2 separate regions of the Homo sapiens genome follow, and region 2 is linked to region 1. The links are contacts of gene promoters, found by promoter capture Hi-C in human tissues and cell types (Jung and others, 2019). All regions are on one chromosome and are shown on one strand. Each heading gives the region's core, a stretch centred on a gene start or on the middle of the fragment in contact. The rest is flanking DNA. Distances are from core to core; before and after follow the strand shown.

Region 1 (3,644 bases), core at 424-2,923:
AGAATTCCCTTAGGTCAGTAATAACAAGGAAGCTTGGAAGCAAATGTATAGCAAGCACAAACATGCCTACAGTAATTTTTCTGGCCCAATTTATTTTCCCAGCCCTATCCTTCCTTCATTCATAATTTAAATGGATATTATCTTATATTTTATGTATCAATACTCAGATTTTAAGTCTCTGTACACATTTGTATATTAAAAAGTAGTTTATAGATTAAAAAATAGTAAATTTAGTTTAACATCCACATAAAAGCATCATCAGGTAGATTTTTCTTATTATATATCAAAGTATTGAGATTTAAGAAGGCTAAAAGCTTCTGCCCAGAGCCATACATTTAGTCTGTGGGCTTTAGGGTCTGAATAATTTTTTTTGTTTTTTTATATATGGAGTCTTGCTCTGTCACTCAGGCTGGAGTGCAGTGGCATGATCTCAGCTGACTGCAACCTCCGTCTCCCGGGTTCAAGCGATTCTCCTGCCTCAGCCTCCCAAGTAGTTGGGATTACAGGCACACGCCACCATACCCAGCTAATTTTTTTTGTATTTTTAGTAGAGACGGGGTTTCACCATGTTGGCCAGGCTGGTCTCGAATTCCTGACCTCAGGTGACCCGCCCACCTCTGCATCCCAAAGTGCTGGGATTACAGGCATGAGCCACCGTGCCTGGTCTGCCTCAGTCAATTTAACACCAATGGTACTAGTTTTTGCTGCATGGAAGTAAGTTACTATTGAAAAAGTAAACATTTGTTTCATGATATTGAAACACAAAAAAGATCTGAGTCTTCAGATAATAACAAAAGTGTCATTTTGTGGGGGCAGGGGGTGCAGGGGAAGTTTGCATTTGCTAGATATAAAATGAGATTGTACACGAGAATGTTCAATACATATGGCAGAACTGCCACTGCGACTGGTAATTCTGAATTTCTGGCCTATGTCATCTTAACTTAGGTCTTGGCTATTTCAACAAGATTGTTTTCAAAATTCCTGAAAAAGCAAACAAAGCCAACCACAGAGCAGCCCTAAGGAGCAAAGATTAATGTTTTTTTGTTTTTTTTTCTCTCTTCTCGCATTCCCAGTAGATTGTTCTACCAATCCTATAGGGCTTTTACGAAGATTAAAAATATTATATATGTATAAGCATAAATATATATATAAGCATATATATACGCTTTAAGTTTATATAAACTTTAAGTTTTGTAGGAGGAAGTTTCTGTAAAAACACAATTTTTCAGCCTTTTCTTCGAAAGTGATGTTCTTATGCTACAACACACAGGATTACACATCGTCATATTCGCATTTCTCTTACCTCATGGCTCTGAAAATGCAGACTTTTTATTGTTGATGCTTTCATGAATCTAAATAATCTAACAGACAATTTATGACCATTTTTATATTCCTTATTATGATCAATGTTAAGATGTTAAAAATATTCTAAGATAATTCTCTTCCTAGAAGAATAATGAAATTTTAAATGCGGTGATGGGGAGCAGTATTCCTACCTTTAGATTTCTGCTTCGATTTACAACGATTCTTGAAACTCAGCGTCATATACCCATCTTCATTCTCCATCTCTTCAAATGTCTAATGTCTTATTATCCAGAAAATAGTACAAAGAAAATGGAAACTAATCTCAACCTTGGATATGTCTCTTTGGCACAAGGTACTAAAAGAAAACTAAAAGGAAGGCCAAAAATAGTCAAAATTTACTCAGACACAGATGTCTAAAACCACACAGGATGTGTTGGTAAATGAAAATGGATATAAGCTTGTTAATATCTGGCTACAATTCTGTGAATTTCAAGGTAAAGGTAGCTAGTGTGTTCCACTGTTTTCAACAAATGGACTTGTGTGTTCCTGCCACTTGTGTGCGGTGTATTAGAAACATAATTCCTTCCTTCATGTCTTTTATAATAAAGTAAGAGAAAAAATAAAATAAAACAAATAATCTCTAAACAAACAGAACAAATGTCTAGGTAAATAAAAATTCAAATTAAAAAAGTTAAAATAGCAATTTTGTTATTTGGGACATATTTGACTAGTAGAGTCCAAATAACGATGGTTAGATGGGACAAAAATAGGAAAATAAAAGATCAGCAAGTCTCAAGTTAGTGAAAATCGGAATCACTTGCAAAGAATTTAACTTTTTAAACTTTTTTGTTTGTTTGTTTGTTTTTCAGAAAACGCCAGGCAGATTTTCCTTCAGTAGGTGTGGCAGTTTATTTTGTGTCAACTTGGCTGAGTCACAGAGAGTCCAGATAGTTGATCAGACATCATTCTGCTTATTTCTGTGAGGGTGTTTTTGGATGGGATTCATATTTAAATAGGTGACCTTTGAGTAAGGCAGATTTGCCTCCTCTGTAATGTGACTGGGCCTTATTGAGTCAGTTGGAGCCTTGAATAGAACAAAAAGACTTGTCTTCCCTGAGTGAGAGAGAATTCTCCAGCAATGGCCTTCAGACTATCTGCAGCATTAGCTCCTCCTGATTCTACAGACGGTGGACTTTGCATTTGAATTGAGCCTTCCTAGGTACCCAGTCTGTCCATGCTCATTTGCAGAATTTTGACTTACCAGCCTCCATAATCACATTCCTTATTTTATATATATTTCACTTAACACGCACACACACACACACACACACACACATGCTAATGGTTCTGTTTCTGCTACGTGGCCACTCAATATCAATCCATTGATTTAACACCGAGTGTCTGGGGAAGGTGGCTGACTGTTTCCCACAGCACATGTTGTGTTCACCTGATTATTGAGTCTCCTCCTCAACACTGGATGTCACTTGTGAGTATTTACATGGGAATGAATATTTACACACGCCGCGTCCATTCTGCATGATCTCTATATGTACCTCTTAGCTTCTCATTCATTTTTCTATTTTGTTCTTTTTGAGTTTCCGACAAGTCATCTCACCTATTAGTTTCTGATAAGATGATTTAGATGTATTTCTCTGAGTGCTTATCCTTCCTGTTAGGTTCACAACCAGACATATTGTCCAAACTTCTGTTCAGTGGGAAGACTTACCTTCACTTCTGTCTTTCACAGTCTTCTCCTGAATGGGACTGTAGTGTGGCATCTATTCCAGCTGCCGTATTTTACATAACCACTGATAAACTTATTTTTTTCAACTACTTCAGTGTAAGATCGTACAGAACCCTCTTTTCCATCCCCAACCCGGGTCATAGGTATGGTTGAGGTGGAGATAGCAAAGGAATGCGAACATGTGCCATCGGAGTCTGAGCCATCTGCTCATGCAGTTTACTGTGCTTCTTTGGAACTGTTCAGGCCTTGCCTCCAAAATGGCACAATTATGTTTGTGATAAAATGCTTCTGTGCACTTCTAAACATAGGGTTCATTGGGTCAAAGTGGTCAAGTTGGATCAAGTTAATGGTGGTGAACATATGTCTTATAAAAATATGTAGTAGGTTTACTGCCTACTTTTCACCAGGAACAGTTGGCATGATAGCATCAATGTAATGAATCTATTGTGTGCAACCAGTTCTGAGGTATAACATATTGGGAGCTATATCAAGATGATTTAGTTCCCTCTGGGCCATCTTATAACAGAGATCAGGAGAGCTGACATACACCTGGGCAAGGCAGCAAAGAAATACTTGTTATTTCTGTTTGTAAATA
Region 2 (4,121 bases), core at 765-3,264, 140 kb after region 1:
TCTCTGTTTCTTAGTAAAACTAAATGCTTATTTATGTCAATGTAACATCTTATTTCAAGTGGCACTTCCTCTCTGATGCACCTGTGGGCTGCGGTAAAATCTCATGCGTGCTCTGTTGGGGCATTTTTGTTTTGTATATCAATTGTCAGTAAATTACTTACTTATTGACATACTAGAAAATCAGCTCCCTGAAGGGAGGACATCATTTTTAATCTCAACTTCCAGTTTCAGGGAAAGCAATATAGTTTAACCATTGTATTTATAGGCTTTGGTGTCAAGTAATCTGGTTTCAAATTTCTGCTCAACTCCTATCCTTCTGTGTGACTTTGAGTGAAGTACCTTGTTTTCCTCATCAGCACTTAAATGGGATAATAAAGGTGCCTAGCTCCTACAGTTGTGATACCAGAAGACTTAAATGAGCCAATACCTGACACACACAATGTTCTTAGTAAATGTTAGCTTTTAGCTAATCAAATCATCAAACTGTATTTATAAGTTTAGTGTAAATTAAGATTGCTACTTTCATATGAATATTTCCACATAAATTAACACATTCAATATAAATCTTATAAATTTTGTATGAAATTTCATAAAAATTAATCTATTAATACAAATCTAACCCGATGTTTCTCTGAATGGAAACTTTTTGGCATGTATATATCAAGTGGCCTTGAAAACTCATTGATTAATATTCTAAATTAGGTTGCTCTTTAAGAAAACTCAATAAAACATTAAAAGTAATATATCTGATTTTTTTTCTCATAGATGTGAAGTTTTTTTGTTTTAATTCTCAAACTAACAAAGGCTACCTAAAAATTCAATAGGGTACTTTCAGGTACATTTGTAATATTCAACAGATGTATTTGTTTCTGCTTTCTCTAAAGTCTCAGTAAAAATTATATTAATAAAAACATTTAATAGAATAAAAAATGATTGGGAGCAACTAGGCATAGATGAGAAATGTCTACAAAGTTTGGACTATGTTCAGTAACTTAGGCCATAGTTCCCTGGACGCTAAAGCATCAGAGACCCTATGCACCACAGACTCTATGGTGGCTCCCATCATCCCCGTGTTCTGGTCTTCAAGCTCTTGTGTGATCTCCTCTCTTTGAATGTGGATAGGACTTGTGATTTGCCTCTAATCAATACAATACAGCAAAGGTAATGGTATATGCATGATTACATGAATGGAATGGAATGTGCCTAAGATTATAATAACTGTCTGCCAGAGGGGACTCTTTTCATGGCTGGCTTTGAGAAAGCAAGGTGCCATGTCGGGAAAGTCCTTACAGCAAGAAACTGAGGGCTACCTCTGGCTAGTAGCCATCAAGAAACTCAGGCCCTCAGTTGATGGCCCACAAGGAAGTGAATGCTGCCAGCAACCATGTGAGCCTAGAAGCAGATCCTTCCCCAGATGAGCCTCAGAGGAGATGAGAGCCACAGCCAACACCTTCACTGCAGCCTTGTGAGTCTCTGAAGCGTAGCACCTACCCAAGCCATGCCTACACTCCTGGCATACAGAAATTATGAGATAACAAATGTGCATTGTTTTAAACCACAAAGCTTAAGGTAATTTGTTATTTAGCAATAAAAAACTAATACCGTATGGGTTCAATATGGGGGAAAACTGGGGAATTAGTAGAAAATATATACAAGGAGCCCCTTGAACAACCAAACGGCAACCCTGTATGTCTACTGAAGATTGGAAGTTTATTGCCTGGCATTACTGAACCAAAAGGAGCCTGAATTCAGAGTAAGAGTCTCTAGGCAAGGCTAAGGGAGGACGTGCTTTACTAAAGACAGAGGAATTAATTGAAATTCTGAATAACAGACTTGCTTTTGAGAGGTGACAGCGTGCTGGCAGTCGTCACAGCCCTCGCTCGCTCTCGGCGCCTCCTCTGCCGGGGCTCCCACTTTGGTGGCACTTGAGGAGCACTTCAGCCCACCGCTGCACTGTGGGAGCCCCTTGCTGGGCTGGCCAAGGCCGGAGCCGGCTCCCTCAGCTTGCAGGGAGGTGTGGGAGGGAGGGGCGCGGGCGGGAACCGGGGCTGCGCGCGGCGCTTGCGGGCCAGCTGGAGTTCCGGGTAGGCGTGGGCTTGGCGGGCTCCGCACTCGGAGCAGCCGGCAGGCCCTGCCGGCCCGGGGCAATGAGGGGCTTAGCACCCGGGCCAGCGGCTGCGGAGGGTGTACTGGGCCCCCCAGCAGTGCCAGCCCACCGGCGCTGCGCTCGATTTCTCGCCGGGCCTTAGCTGCCTTCCCGCGGGGCAGGGCTCGGGACCTGCAGCCCGCCATGCCTGAGCCTCCCACCCTCTCCGTGGGCTCCTGTGCGGCCGGAGCCTCCCCGATGAGCGCCGCCCCCTGCTTCACGGCGCCCAGTCCCATCGACCACTGAGGACGACTCGCTGAGGAGTGCGGGCGCAGAGCATGGGACTGGCAGGCAGCTCTACCTGCAGCCCCGGTGTGGGATCCACCGGGTGAAGCCAGCTGGGCTCCTGAGTCTGGTGGGGACGTGGAGAACCTTTATGTCTAGCTCAGGGATTGTAAATACACCAATAGGCACTCTGTATCTAGCTCAGGGTTTGTGAATGCACCAATCGACACTCTGTATCTAGCTACTCTGGTGGGGCCTTGGAGAACGTTTGTGTGGACACTCCGTATCTAGCTAATCTGGTGGGGATGTGGAGAACCTTTGTGTCTAGCTCAGGGATTGTAAACGCACCAATCAGCACCCTGTCAAAACAGACCACTGGGCTCTACCAATCAGCAGGATGTGGGTGGGGGCCAGATAAGAGAATAAAAGCAGGCTGCCCAAGCCAGCAGTGGCAGCCCGCTCGGTCACGCTGTGGAAGCTTTGTTCTTCTGTTCTGTGCAATAAATCTTGCTACCGCTCACTCTTTGGGTCCGCACTGCTTATGTGAGCTGTAACACTCACCGCGAACATCTGCAGCTTCACTCCTGAAGCCAGCGAGACCAGGAGCCCACCGGGAGGAACTAACAACTCCAGACGCGCTGCCTTAGGAGCTGTAACACTCACCTTGAGGTTCTGCAGCTTCACTCCTGAGCCAGCGAGACCCCGAACCCACCAGAAGAAAGAAACTCCGAACACATCCGAACGCCAGAAGGAACAAACTCCAGAGGCGCCACCTTAACAGCTGTAACACTCACTGCGAGGGTCCACGGCTTCGTTCTTGAAGTCAGTGAGACCAAGAACCCACCAAGTCCGGACACAGTTTGACATCTCCTAATTGACTTCAATATCCTCGACAATCAGGCTTAAGGCACCCAAGAAGAAAATTGGAGAATTTCTCTTTGAAAAAACTGACCTGCTTCATAATAAAGACCTACAAATATTGAGATTAAGAAGAAATAAATAACTTCTGCCTGAACATCCAGTGATGTCCACTGATCCCAGACACAGAAATTCCCTTCGCTTATTTAGTACCTCAGTCTTGCATGCTGTTAGACACTTAAGGACTACTAGATATTTAGAAAAGTCTCCAATAAAAGTAAGAGATCAGGCCGGGCCCGATGGCTCACACCTGAATCCCAGCACTTTGGGGGGCTGAGGCAGGCGGATCACCTGAGGCCAGGAGTTCGAGACCAGCCTGGCCAAGATGGTGAAACCCCATCTCCACTAAACATACAAAGAAATTAGCTGGGTGTGGTGGCACGTGCTTGTAATCCCAGCTACTTGGGAGGCTGAGGCAGGAGAATCGCTTGACTTGAACCTGGGAGGTGGAGGTTGCAGTGAGCCGAGATTTTGTCACTGCACTTCACCCTGGGCAACACAGCAGAACTCCGTCTCAAAAAAAAAAAAAAAAAGATCAAAACAAGTACACATAAGATGAAGTTCAAATTAGAATTGATCGTAAAAATGAAAGAAAGACTTAAAATATTCTTATAATTCATAATCTCAGGTGTGGGGAAAGAAAATAGTATATCACTTAAACAAAAAGAGTAAACTATAAAAAAGATCACAACAAGAAATAATCCTTGAAAATTAAAATTATAAGAAAATAAAAAAACAAATTCTATAAAATGGGTGGAGGAAAAACTTGAGAAATTTCCTAGGTAATAAAATCTAAAGAGGAAGAGATAAAAGAAAAAGTATAATAATAGTA

The links. Contacts are between HindIII fragments. The study calls those that stand out against the background at their distance.
Region 2: a fragment that was not itself captured here is called in contact with the fragment with the promoter of KLRF2 in region 1 in 1 of the 25 tissues and cell types used here (spleen).

Annotation. Positions count from the first base shown.
Region 1 is chr12:9,879,518-9,883,161 of GRCh38, reverse strand. It overlaps KLRF2 (killer cell lectin like receptor F2), which reads right to left and starts at 1,673. Exons shown (of 6, transcript NM_001190765.1): 1 at 1,497-1,673. The coding sequence starts at 1,566. It also overlaps a transcript of CLEC2A not described here. The HindIII fragment of the contact is 4,749 bases long and covers 1-3,644 here.
Region 2 is chr12:9,737,862-9,741,982 of GRCh38, reverse strand. No RefSeq gene overlaps it. Among named protein-coding and RNA genes, the nearest start is that of CLECL1, 6.8 kb to the right of the region's middle. RefSeq lists a cis regulatory region at 1,292-1,544. The HindIII fragment of the contact is 3,083 bases long and covers 473-3,555 here.